3 separate regions of the Homo sapiens genome follow, and all the other regions are linked to region 1. The links are contacts of gene promoters, found by promoter capture Hi-C in blood cells and fetal thymus (Javierre and others, 2016). All regions are on one chromosome and are shown on one strand. The core of a region is centred on a gene start or on the middle of the fragment in contact, and the rest is flanking DNA. Distances in the headings are between cores, read along the strand shown.

Region 1 (4,231 bases), core at 772-3,271:
AAAGCAGGTGAAAGTGGGAGATTCCAAAAGAGACCAGAGAGAAGGCAGTGTGTCCTGCCCAATCTGCCGCTAGGGTCAGAGACCAGCTCCCTAGTCACACTCGGCCAAGGCAGGCTGCCGGGCTGACTCCAACTCTAAACAAAGCCAGGCAGCCGCCCAGGTGGGTGAAGGCTGCAGATTGCGCTCAGGCGTGACGCCGGGGTGCAGGTGGGAGCGACGCCCGGGTGCGTGGGTGCAGCGCTCGCCCGCCCGCGGTTAGGCGCACCGCGGGAACCGGTCAGGTGCGCCGTGTGGGGCGGGGCGGAGGCAGGGCGTGCGCCCCCAGGCTGGTGCCTGGGGCAGAGGATTCGCCTGCTTGACGCGCTGATGCCTTGATTTGGTCTGACAAGTGGAGGCTGCTTTGAGAAGCGGCCTGTATTTTTGACATTCAGGAAGCTAGAAATAACCAGCTGGGCTCCTGGCGCTCTGGCCGCAAATGTCTTGCGCTTTCCAGGCAACTGCCAGATTGAAGGGGCTTTTCCCCAATGTAGACCTGTGCTCTGTGTGCTAGGAGGCCGAGGTTCCAGTCCAGGCTCGGCTTCTGACTCCCTACTTTAGGAGGAATCACTGAATTGACTGCAGCTCGGCTTCTGCTCTGTAAAATGGGGCTGTTGCTAGCTGAGCCTCTTCTGCCTCTGGTAGAAAATGATTCCAAGTGGCTGCCCTGTCCACCCTAATCCCATGGCCCGAACTTGATGTCTGCTGCTTCTAGAAGCCTAGTGCTCCAAATATCTGCTCTGGGAGGGACTTGCAGATGATCCTGATTGGAAATGAGGCTGATTAACCTTTTGTGTATCATTGACTCTAGGACAATCTGTTGAAACCTAGGGGCTCTTACCCTAGACAAATTAACACACCAGCCAGATACAGCTTACAAGGGCAGAGAGTTGCTGGTTTGAACCACAGACCCCTGGTTTAACATCTGTAATCTAGTCAACCCCTCCTCTTTCTTGAAGGCTGAACCAAACACGAAGGGTTTTCCCCACCTTCCAATCCTCATACATGCAGACACCCCCTTTTCCTGCTTTCTCCTTCAGTCATCTTCCTCACCATCCCCCATGCTTGGGCACTCTCAGGAGGGAAATTGTCCTATAAATATCTGTAAAAGGCATGGTATGTCCTGTAGCAGAGAAAGCAAAAAATAAAAATATAATTCCTCCACCCCTGGCATGGCACGTGCAGAGCTCTGCCTGATCCTTCTCTCCCACAAGCCTCGGGGGTGGGTAAACAAAAGTGAGAGGTGAAGCTGCTGCAGCGAAGTACCCCTTCAAAATCTTCAGTACCCTTCAGAGCCAGCGCTGTCATCACTATCACATAAACTGTACAACTCCAACGTCAACCAGCAGCCGCCTGGCTGGCAGCAGGAAGAGCCAATGCAATTTTGCACAGTGGCTTGCTTGCCCAAGGTATTGCCTGGCAAATGGGCTTCTTGTGCAATGGGGAACCACAGGGAGGGGCCTCTTAAATGTACCTCAAAGAAACAGCTCTAACAATGGATGATTCAACAGGCTAGTAATTGGCGCTCACTCTTACCACATTGTTTTGATAAAACGACATAGCCCAACTGGGGATATGAAGGCAGTAAGTAGAAAAGCTAACCTCTTGCTACTCAAATTGTGGCTGAGAACCAGCGACATCCCATCACCAGAAGCTTTATAGAAAAGCCAGGCTCTGTCCCAGACCTATTGAAAGGAGATCTGCATTTTAACATGATTGCGAGAGGATCCACATCTTAAAGTTTCAGAGGCCTAATCCAAAGTCTTCTGATAATGATCATTAGAGTCCCAGCCACCCCCGACTTCCCCCTGGGAAAACCACAACAAATAGAACAAATTCCTCCAAGCTCTGCTCATAAGAAGAACCCACAACCCACAGACACCCCCTCACTCAACTAGAGACCTCACCCACCTGTTTGCAGAGTCACCCACCTTGGGCTACTTCTTTTCTACTATTTAATCTTCTGGGAAAACAGAGGTCTTCTATTTGGAGATAAAAATGACAAAGGAGAACCTCCTGAACAGCATCCAGTTTGCTTTTAGCTTTAGCCATCTCTCTGACCTCAGTGCTGCTGGACTCAGTTCCAAGATCTAACTGTCAAATGCTTTAGGGGAAACGGGAAGAGAAGTCCCTGGAGTAACCCATGTGCGCAGCCTGGCACTGTTTTCACTTGCCTTTGGAAATGAAGGTGCAGAAACCATGGGAGGTAAGGAGGGCACAGACTAGTGACTTCCAGTGTGGGACAGAGGGGAAAAGATGGAAGAGAAGTGCAGAAAACCACTCGGGAAAAGACAGGCTGGAGTGATGCCTGCTGAGACAGGGCCCTGATCTCCCAGGACTTCCCTTTCTGCCTGTTCTGTAGAAATGTCTCGGGTTTTGTGGTTTAGGAAAAGAGATGCTTAGCAAGCTTGTAGAAAATGTAATGTGGGCACTTTGTTGCTGTCCTGGCTTTTAAAGGACTCTGAAGCAGATCAGCTTCAAGGTATTGGCTATTCTGTTTGCAGCCTTAGAAAGACATCCTTGATGTTTTATTGTTCTGCCTTTGCTAAGAGCTGGAAACTCTCCCTGGGGAAATGGCTCACCTTGAAAGAGATGCTATCGTAGCTGAAAATGTTTTAGCTTCACTTCCAATCTCTGGTTCCTTGTGGGAAGTAACTGCTGCTGTGGTATATATGCCCTGTGCCTTTTATTTTTACCATCTTTACCTCGGTGGACACAGCTGGTTGAAACTCAGTAAAACTTATGCTTCCATGGAGATTGATTCAGACAACAGGAAAAATAAGTGTAGAAAAAAACTGCACAGTACAAGGGCTAGATTCAGGTTGTAGAACAAAGTGATTATTACTTAGAATCCTGGATTAGCAAGAGAATAAGAAAGATGCTGAGATTACCTAGTGTTATCACCATCCACGTGAAACGTAGAATAAAACTTTTTCCCCACCACATAGATATTGGGCAGTTTATTATAGATGCTACAAAGGGATTTATTATATTTTTCCCAAAATGGTTAATTAGAGGCATCCCAAATTACAACTCCTTTAGCATAACTCCCAGCTCCATGCAGCCTACTTACTAAGGACCCAGCTACTGACAGCTCAGCTCTTTGCCAATCCAACTTTTTTTCCCCATATGCTCAAACTTTTCTTCTCCAAGAAGACTTCCTGAATGATCCCAATTCATAGGGATCTCATCCTTAATGCAGGGGAAATTCACTGTTCTGGAGTAGTCTACCATACCATCACGCTCTTCTTTTTGTGTAATCCTGGATTTCTTCTCCAGTTGTTTTATTCTTGCCTGTCTACACAGATAGATCAGTAGCCTTCAATAGTCTGCATCTCCTGTTATCTTGCAGCCTCCTACTATAAACAGTAGGTGCTTTACTTATGCCAGTTGGGTTGACCTAGACAGTAGTCTCTAAGTAGCAGTCCTTGGCTCATCCTTCTGAAACCAACGAGCTCTTAGGCAGGCTGAGAAAGGGTTAGGACTGTTCACTCTGGGACATCCTTGGCTCTGTATGAGTGTTGTTTTTAAAAGCAGGGATTTTGTCTCCAGTGCATTGAAGAGATAAAACCCCATTGTCAGCATATTTCTTCAGGATCTTTCTGTGTTAGATCTCACTGCCAAGCCAGAGTCCCCACACACAGACTCTCACTTTTCCCCCATCAATAGGCTGAAGTGAGGCAAGTAGTAGAATGTGCTCAAATCATGGCCTATTCTTAATAAAAGAAACAAGGACAGCTTGGGGCTGGCTCGTCTCTTCTCAAATTCTCCTAGTGTTCTGAACCAAATGTATGAAACGAATAGATTTGTTTTATTCGCAGGTATTAATGCTTCTCCGAAAGCAGTTGTTTGGGTGGCTGGAATATCAGTAGTCATTGACCAATAAGGCTTGCAGGTGTGAATCAGAGCAGTATTCTGGACTTCCAGAGTAGAGCTGCCATCTACTACTCTACATCACCTTCATCCTTACAGAATCACTGAGACCATTCATTCATTCACAAGCAGTTGTGTCTGCTACATGCCAGGCACTTGTAGTAGGCATTAGAGATACAATGGCAAGTGAAACAGACACTGCATGTAATCTACTGAGAGAGACTGGGAATTAATTCAATAAGTAAAAGTAAGTATATAATTATCAATTGTGATAAAGGCCCTGAAGCAAAAGAATAGGATGTTCTACAAGAATATTACAAGA
Region 2 (4,231 bases), core at 1,123-3,622, 510 kb after region 1:
ATGCTGTGTCGATTTTATCCTTTTGACATAAATATATATTCTCTACACTCATATTTAAAAAGTATTAAGCCTTCTGATACGCCACATAATGAGATAATGTTCTTTTTCATTTTATGGATCAAGTTTCTTCACTGTATGGATAGAATTATGTTTCTGCAGGTATTATTGGTATGGGTTCTGTTTCTGCAATCTTGATTGTTGTGACTGCAATTACTCAATTTCTCTAGGTAAAAAGGTGTTAAAAATAATGCATTTGAAATGGTTTTCTTATTGCAAATTTAGATTTGGATGGAGCCAGCCAACGGCGTTATTCTGAGAATCTCTCCTACGGTGAAGATGACCACATCCCTGCTCACTCACAGTCCCCATGTGAAAGAGGGGATGCCAAACACCACGGCACATCTCACCAAGAGTCCAGTGTGGTCCAAAGCCTCAGGCGCCAATCCACAGAGGGCAGCTTGGAGATGGAGACAGCTTTTAATAGCCGGGGATTTGAAGATTCCTATGCCACTGACAGCTCCTCCATGTGGAGTCCAGAGGCAAGTTATTTGTTTTTCATTCTTTCATTGGTTCCCTTTCCCCTTCCCCTCTTTCCACTCTCCTTTCTCATCTCTCTAAAAAAAAAAAAAAATTCCAGAAAGGAAGCATTACTTTTATCTGCAATAAATTTTTGTCCAGATGACCAAAATCCCATGCATGTCAATAAAAGAGTCATAAATTTCTCTCAAAATGGAAAAAAAAGGATGAACGGTAAAAAAAAAAAAAAAGAAAAAAAGAAAAAAAAATAAGAATGGTGGCAGAATGGATCCAGGAACAGCCAGGCTTTTCTTTTATATAAAGGCTTTTTATAGACTTAATTTTAAATAATGGAATTTTCAGTTCTTTAGAGGGACTGGTTTATTTACTTCATGGTTTCAATTAAGTGGAGTCTATTTTTATTTAGCCCAAATCTCAAGTTACGATTATTTGATATGAAAATTATTTGAAAATTGAACTAAAATGAAATGGCCTTCCAAGTGAAATTATACAAGGTGTAATGATGCAGATCTTGCACTGTGAATATATACAAAATATATTTTGTGCCTAGGAGACAGCATTAATCAGTAATGCCCCTCTGGCCATTGACATTGGTTTTGTAGTAAATCTCTGATAAAAGATACTTCTTCCAAAGTTCTTTTTCAAGTAAAGCTTAGTCCAGAATAAATGTAACAATCAATCCAGAGATATGGCTGGAGGTGATGATGGTAGTAGCTACCATTTATTGAGCAGTTAATATATGCCAGGCACTGTGATAAGGATTTTACCAAATTGTTTCCTTTTACTGGCCCTTACGGTTATTTTTCCATTAGATAGATCCCTCCTATCATGATTCTGTGACATTGGAAGGCATTAAGGAATGGTGTTTAATACCTAATTTGAAATTAATTTTGATGAAATAAGTCATATACATATATAAACCTTTAATATAATTTGCAGGGATGGGGGAAGAAGGAGAGAGGTGAATGGATTTTATTAGCATCCATTTGAGAAAATAAACAGGATGCATCTCTTATTAGGACTTGGAGTGTCACACACGCTAAATGCTCAAGGTAAAAAAAAAAAAAGGAATCACAGAAAACCCTGTTTCCAAGCCTTAACTGCTAACATGTTGGCGTGTGTAGGTAGTATCTAAGGAGGGGTATGCATACACATCTGTGCCCCTGTGTAGATGTCTCTGCTGAGGACCAGAAATGGTAGCTCACATATGTGGTTTGTGGCTTGTTAAAAAGCAGCCCTTCATATGGAGGCACCCAAAGCCATTAACTTTATACATTTTGTTTAAAAAAAGAAAAAACTCTGCTTACCCGTTAGTTTACTACCAAGCCGTATCAAATCCCACACACTAACTCTTAAAAAATATTTTGAATCTCTCTCCCAAAAACAAAACAGACCAAATGATTTGCCTGCCTATTGATACTCTGTCTCCTTGGTGATTGTGCCATGAGGCTTGGAAGTGACTTCTCCAGGTCACCTCCCATTTACCTGCCTGCTGGAGCTTTAATAGAAGACTCGGTATTGAGGGTACTAAATGTTCTCAGACTCCAAAAATACCCAGACATCTCTGTGTGCTCCATTCAACCTCCTATCTATTTTGAGAAAAAACTGTAATTTGGTGCTCCTACAGTAGAACCTCAAATCCAACTCGGAGGCAGTTCCCGTAACTGCCTGCTTTGCAGGCTTAGCTTGCCTTTTAAGAAATGATTTATTTGCCTCTTAGCTGTATTGAGAACTCTGTCTTCCCCTGTGTATCTGGCATCAGGAACATATTGTAGGCCTGTTTACTTTAGGCCACACAGATGACATCAACACTATCTTACTAAAACAGAAAGGCTTTCAATTTGACAGAAAATCTTTAAACCTACCTGGGTTTTGACAATTTGACACAAGTATTCTCATCTTAAGGAAAAGCCCAGGATATTGGAGCTCAAGGAATCATTTATTTTGTCTCAGCAGGAAACTGGTCGTGCAGTGTGACTACCTGTTAGGCTGATGGATTTTCGAGCTCTGCTCTTCTCTGCTGGCGAAGGCCTTTGGCTTTTTCCTGCAGACCCAGGGCTTGGCAGGAAAGACAATGGGAGTGTGGCTGGTGATTTTGAGCACACAGGGAGACAGGTGTCCCACTTTTCATCTCTGCTTTCCACTGATTAATTGGTTGGCCTTGAGAAGTTAATTAAAATCTGCCAAATGGGGATAAGAATGAAGAGATTTTTACCTTGCAGGAAGGTCAGATGGATTAGTGGTATTAACAGTACCCAAGTGAGGAGCTCCTTCAGTTGCCTGGTGAGAGGTAAAGTGTGTTGAAATAATTAATTGCTATGAAAATACCAGCATTCACAAATCTTTTTCTCAAATCAACCCAGGGAGGGGCTACAAAGCCCAGTTTTCATGGGCCACAGCTTGAATTGGCCTATCCAAAGCCCAGCCATTGGCAGGATCTGTTTATTCAGAGGAGTTCTTAGGACAGTCAGGAGCTCTACCCAGGACTCTCTTAGAAACCTGCAGGTGGAGTGAGCATTTATCCGAAGAGACAGCCTGATACATAAGTGGAGAGAGCTCCTCATTCACTAAAATATTTTTACCTTGGCATTGAAGTTGACAAAACTAAGAGCTATTAACTAACATTAAGAGCAGGGGCCTCAAAGGATGTGAAAACCACAGAGAGTGTGATTCCAACCCCCACCTTCCGTCTTCTCCCCCTTCATCTTGTGCGCTTGCTCTCTCTCTCTCTCTCTCTAGTGCTCTCTCGCTCTCTCTCTCTCTCTCTATATATATATATATAAACACACACACACACACACACACACATATGTCTATATGTAGAAATAGTTATGCCTAAAGGTTTGGGGAAGAAGAAAGGAGACTGTATGTTTCAAAATAAGGTTTGAAATTTTGAGTATTGGATACGAGTTAAGGCAGGCCTGGGACTCAAACTGCCAGGGCATGAGTCCTGGATAATCTTGTCTGGGAATTTGATCTGGGCTTGGGGGGAGAGAGCGTGTTAGTTATTTAGTCTTTCTAAGCTTGAGTTTCGTCCTCCATAAAATGAAGATATTAAAATACCTACCTCATTGCATTGATGTAAATATTCAAAAAGATAATGTTTCTTAGTTGGGTTCCTCAAAAAAGCAGAGCCTACGTAAAGGCTTTGTTCCCTGCTTTGGGAGTGCAACCCCAGGGAACAAAAGTGCGAGACAAGGGAAGTAAGGCAGGGAAGAAGGGAGGTCAAGTGTGAGAATACACAGTTGAATTGGCCACCACTCAGTATGGCTAATTGCCTGATCTTGTGTGATCACACTCCAAGAAGCTGTATGAACTGATAGGACAACTGACTACGGGGCAAAAAGTAGACTTCACATATATTGGTGTCAAGCAGGGTTCTGCAGCTGTCTAAGCCTTGGCGGTCGACAGAGAGACCAATGATAAGAAATGAGAATTATATTGTGTGGGTAGAAGGTAAGACTTTATTGAGTAGTTCCAGGCTGAAACTACTTAGAGCCCATATAGGCTGTGCCTTAGGGGAAGATGGAACATGAGTTAAGGCCAAGAAGATCTGAAGTGTTTAAGAGCCAATTTTTATAGTCTGTAAAGGATTTGATATGGTATTTGGCATAAGAAATAGTTTAGTAGATGTTAGCTATTATTACTTATGGTCAGAAATGCAATACAGAGATGATCAAGAGTAGGCTAAAAT
Region 3 (4,231 bases), core at 441-2,940, 290 kb after region 1:
CCAACCTGGGAGCTTGCGCTAGTGAATGCTGGCGGGAACTAGGGACTAGACATGTTGGCTCCATCTTCCTTTAGGTGCCAGCCATGTGTACAGTAAAGAGCGACAAGATGGCGGCCAGACACGGAGAGTTCATTAGCATAATAAGATTAGGGTGGGGTGACCGGATTTGGGCGTGCTATGTAAACTTCACATTTGATTAAACCAATCTGTGAGCCCTACCTACCTAAATCAGACACCACCTCCTCAAGCTTTACTATACAATCCGGCACATCCACAGCCAGCCCATCTTTTCCGCTCGGAAAACCCCTCTCTCTCTCGACAGAGAGAGCTGTTTCTCTTCTTCTGCCTATTAAACCTTTACTCCTAAAGGTTTAGGACACAGACACAAACTCCTTGTGTCTGTGTCCTAAATTTTCCAATGCCAAATGGTGAGCCCCTGGATATATACCCCAGACAATGTAGCCTCCTCAGCACTGGAAAACCAAATTAAGTCACCTGAGATTCCTAGCTCAAGTGCTCACAGGAAGATGAAGGCATCTGGGAAGTGTGGGGAGGACATTGGCACACTTGGGGCTCCAAGCGAACTATATTATAATAAGCAGCAACACATTGACTCCCTAAAGACTAACATAAATCCATTTGAAGGCATCTTAAGGTTCTAAGGTTGAAATAATTTTATAATTCTTTGTTTGGAAAAGTACATTCAAAAGAAAACAAAAAGATGTGGATAAGGTCGGGGACATATAAAACAAGTCCCTAAATAGATGACAGACCTTGTCCATATACCCACATACAGTTGCCACAGAAATAAACAGTACCCTTCTCCTCAATTAGGCTCAATAGTTGTCTTTTCCACTGTGGTTCAGTACGTTTTAATGGTTCCACCTTGAAATAGGTAACAATCTTTGGAAAAAGTCACTCTAGGTTGCACAAAGGTTTTATGTTTACAGTTTGGTACAAGTAACAAAGCTACTTTGAAAGAACTGCTTCTTTCCAAACAACAACAACAACAACAACAAACCATTCTAGCCTGTATTTGTTTGGGTGTGATTTATTTTTAGTTTTCATTTTTTGCAAAGCAGCACAGAAGCAATTATAGGAGTGTAGTAATAACCTTTGTAAACATCATTTGCATATCAGTAAGAACTGATTGTCTTTCATTCCTTTTTAGTGAAAGAGGAAGCAAGATGATCAACTCAGAGTGAATAAGGTGGGGAGGTGCTGGCAATTTGAGATTTGTCATCTAGGACTGCAGTGCACAAAGTGGCCAGTTGGGGAGCCCTTGGTTACTGACTTGCCAGGAGATGAGTACAGAAAGTGAGAGCAAGCTTTTAGAAACTGTTATAGCACTTGACATTGCTGTAACATTTTTATTGTATTTTTAAAAAGTATTGGTCTATAATAGATTGGAAATAAAAACATCTAGTCCTCACAGCAGATAGTTTAAGAGGCACTGGGCCAAGAGAATGGGAGAAAATGGAGTAGGGAAAAGTAGAAAGATTGCTGCACTACATTGAGGATCCACCTGAGGCTTGAGGCCATGAATTTCATGTGAGGCCATTCGATTCAAGAGTGTTTTTCTCCAGCCTTGTTTAGCTATGTTGATACAGGCAGTGTTGGATTTTACCAGGGTGTGGTTTTGCTAAGTGGGCCTAATGCAGTGGGAAGATGCAAGTGTTGAGGAAGTATTCAAGTGAGGTGTACGGAGACTGACCATGGCATTTTAAGCTGGGGGAAGAAGAAAGCAATCGGAGGAGGGTGAGAGGCAGTGACGAAAGTGGTAGGATGGATGGAATCTAGGACCAGGAAGAATCAAGTTGGCTGGAGTTGGAATGTAGGACCAGCAAGGAGTGAACTAGAAGTATGGAAGGTGGTGATCAGAGAGTGGGATTTCTGATAATGAGATTCATCACAATACTGCTCACCAACTGGGAGGGAATCTGAATTAATTATTTTGTATATATCCAGTGGACTATTTTGTAGCCATTAGAGCTCATGTTGTCATTCTATTTCTTTATGGGCACAGAAATGTTCAGGATATCTTAAGTGAAAAAAGCTTACCAATTTGCAAAATTAAGTGGCAAAATTTACTAATTTTTTTTGGTAAAAATATAAACATTTTAATGCACAGAAGTCTTAACTGTGGTAGTATCTGGATGGTTGAATCACAGATGCCTTTTACTTTCTTTCGGATAATCTCCTTTTTGTTTTCGAGACAGGGTCTCCCTCTGTTGCCCAGGCTGGAGTGCAGTGCAAACATGACTCACTACAGCCTTGATCTCTTGGGCTCAGGCTCTTGCTTCAGCCCCCCACGTAGCTGGGACCACAGGCACGTGCCACCATGCCTGGCTTATTTTTATATTTTTTGTAGAAAGGGGGTTTTGGCATGTTGCCCAGGCTGGTCTCGAATTCCTGGGCTCAAGCAATCTGCCCACATTGGCCTCCCAACGTGCTGGGATTACAGGTATGGGCCACCATGCCCAGCCTGTTTGATAGAATTCTTACATAGGCATATTTTAGAGATACTGGGGATTCAGTTCCAGCCTATTGCAATAAAGCAAGTATCTCAATAAAGTGAGTCACACAAATGTTTTGGTTTCCTAGTGCATATAAAAGTTACGTTTACACCATGCTATAGTTTATTAAGTATACAATAGCATCATATCCAAAAAAATACCTACCTTAATGAAATATACTTTATTGCTAAAAAAATACTGGCACAGAGTCACAAAGTGAGCACATACTTTGGAAAAATAGTGCTGACAGACTTGCTTGATGTAGGGTTGCTACAAACTTTCAATTTGTAAAAAAAACACACACAATATCTGCAAATCACAATAAAATGAAGCGCAATAAAGTGAGTTATGTGTGCTTTATTGTTATATTCTTATAGCTTTATGAAAGTATAATTTGCATGCAAAAATTCACCAGTTTTAAGTGTACCATCCTATAACTTTTGACAAGTGTGTAGTTTTGAAACTACCACCACATTCATCTTGTAGAACATTTCTCTCATGCCAAAAAATTTCCCTTGTCGCCCATTGCAGTCAGTCTCCTCTCCCACCTCCCGGACCCTGGAAACCAGTGATCTGCTTTCCATCATGATAGTTTTGTCTTCTCTAAAATTTTATATAGATGGGATCATATCATATGTCATCCTTTGTGTCTGGCTTCTTTCACTTAACATAATGCTTTGGAGATTCATCATTGTTCTTGTGTGCATCAATGTTTATTCCCTTTTAAAAAGTAGACATATTTTAGAGTAGTTTTAGGTTCACACTAAAATTGAAGGGGAGGTGCAGGGATTTCCCACCCATGCCCTGCCCCTACACATGCACAGCCTTCTTCACTATCAGCATCTCCCACTAGACTGATACATTTGTTAACACTGAGGAACCTACCCTGGCATATCATCATCATCCAGAGTCCATTAAGGTTCACTCTTGGTGTTGTACATTCTCTGAGTTTGGACAAATGTATAGTGACATGTATTCATTATAGTATCATACAGAGTAGTTTCACTGCCCTAAACATTTTCTGTGCTCTGTCCATTCGTCCTTCTACCCTTTCTAACCCCTGGCAATTACTGATATTTTTACTGTCTCCACAGTTTTTGTCTTTTCCATAATGTCATATGGTTGGAATCATACAGGATATAACCTTTTCAGATTGACTTCTTTCACTTTGTAATATGCATTTAAATTTCCTCCATGGCTTGTCATGGGTTGATAGCTTATTTCTTTTTAGCACCGAATAATGTTCTATTGTCTAGATTCACCACAGTTTGTTTATCCATTTACCTATTGAGGGACATCTTGGTTGCTTCCAAGTTTTGGCAATTATGAGTAAAGCTGCTATAAACATTCATGTGCAGTTTTTTGTGTGGACATATATTTTCACGTCCTTTGGGTAAATCCTAAGGAGAATGACTGCTGGATCATATGGTAAAAGTGTGTTTAGTTTGTTAAGAAACTTCCAAACCGTCTTCCAAAGTGGTTGTACCATTTTGCATTCCCACCAGCAGTGAATGAGAGTTCCTGTTGTTCCGCAACCTCTCCAGCATTTGGTGTTGCCAGTGTTCTGGATTTTGGCTATTCTTATACATGGTATCTCATTGTTTTAATTTACCTTTCCCTGACAACATATAATCTGGAACATCTTTTTACATGTTTATTTGCCATCTGCGCATCTTCTTTGGTGAGGTGTTTGTAAAGCTCTTTGGCCCATTTTT

The links. Contacts are between HindIII fragments. The CHiCAGO score rates a contact against its expected background, and 5 or more counts as called.
Region 2: a fragment that was not itself captured here is called in contact with the fragment with the promoter of LINC03033 in region 1 in 1 of 17 cell types (total B cells); the score reaches 5.3 in total B cells.
Region 3: a contact is called between a fragment that was not itself captured here and the fragment with the promoter of LINC03033 in region 1, in 1 of 17 cell types (activated CD4 T cells). The highest score is 5.1, in activated CD4 T cells.

What each region holds. Positions count from the first base shown.
Region 1 is chr14:61,568,519-61,572,749 of GRCh38, forward strand. LINC03033 (long intergenic non-protein coding RNA 3033) reads left to right here and starts at 2,022. Exons shown (of 3, transcript NR_039985.1): 1 at 2,022-2,242. It overlaps LINC01303 (long intergenic non-protein coding RNA 1303), which reads right to left and starts at 2,135. Exons shown (of 5, transcript NR_110416.1): 1 at 1,968-2,135; 2 at 1,026-1,159. RefSeq lists enhancers at 1-228, 229-728 and silencers at 70-139, 220-379, 1,120-1,312. The HindIII fragment of the contact is 753 bases long and covers 1,689-2,441 here.
Region 2 is chr14:62,074,853-62,079,083 of GRCh38, forward strand. SYT16 (synaptotagmin 16) reads left to right here. Exons shown (of 8, transcript NM_001367656.1): 5 at 283-539. Among named protein-coding and RNA genes, the nearest start is that of LINC00644, 63 kb to the right of the region's middle. The HindIII fragment of the contact is 2,372 bases long and covers 1,187-3,558 here.
Region 3 is chr14:61,859,219-61,863,449 of GRCh38, forward strand. The region is part of intron 1 of SYT16 (synaptotagmin 16); the gene reads left to right. Among named protein-coding and RNA genes, the nearest start is that of SYT16, 49 kb to the left of the region's middle. The HindIII fragment of the contact is 728 bases long and covers 1,327-2,054 here.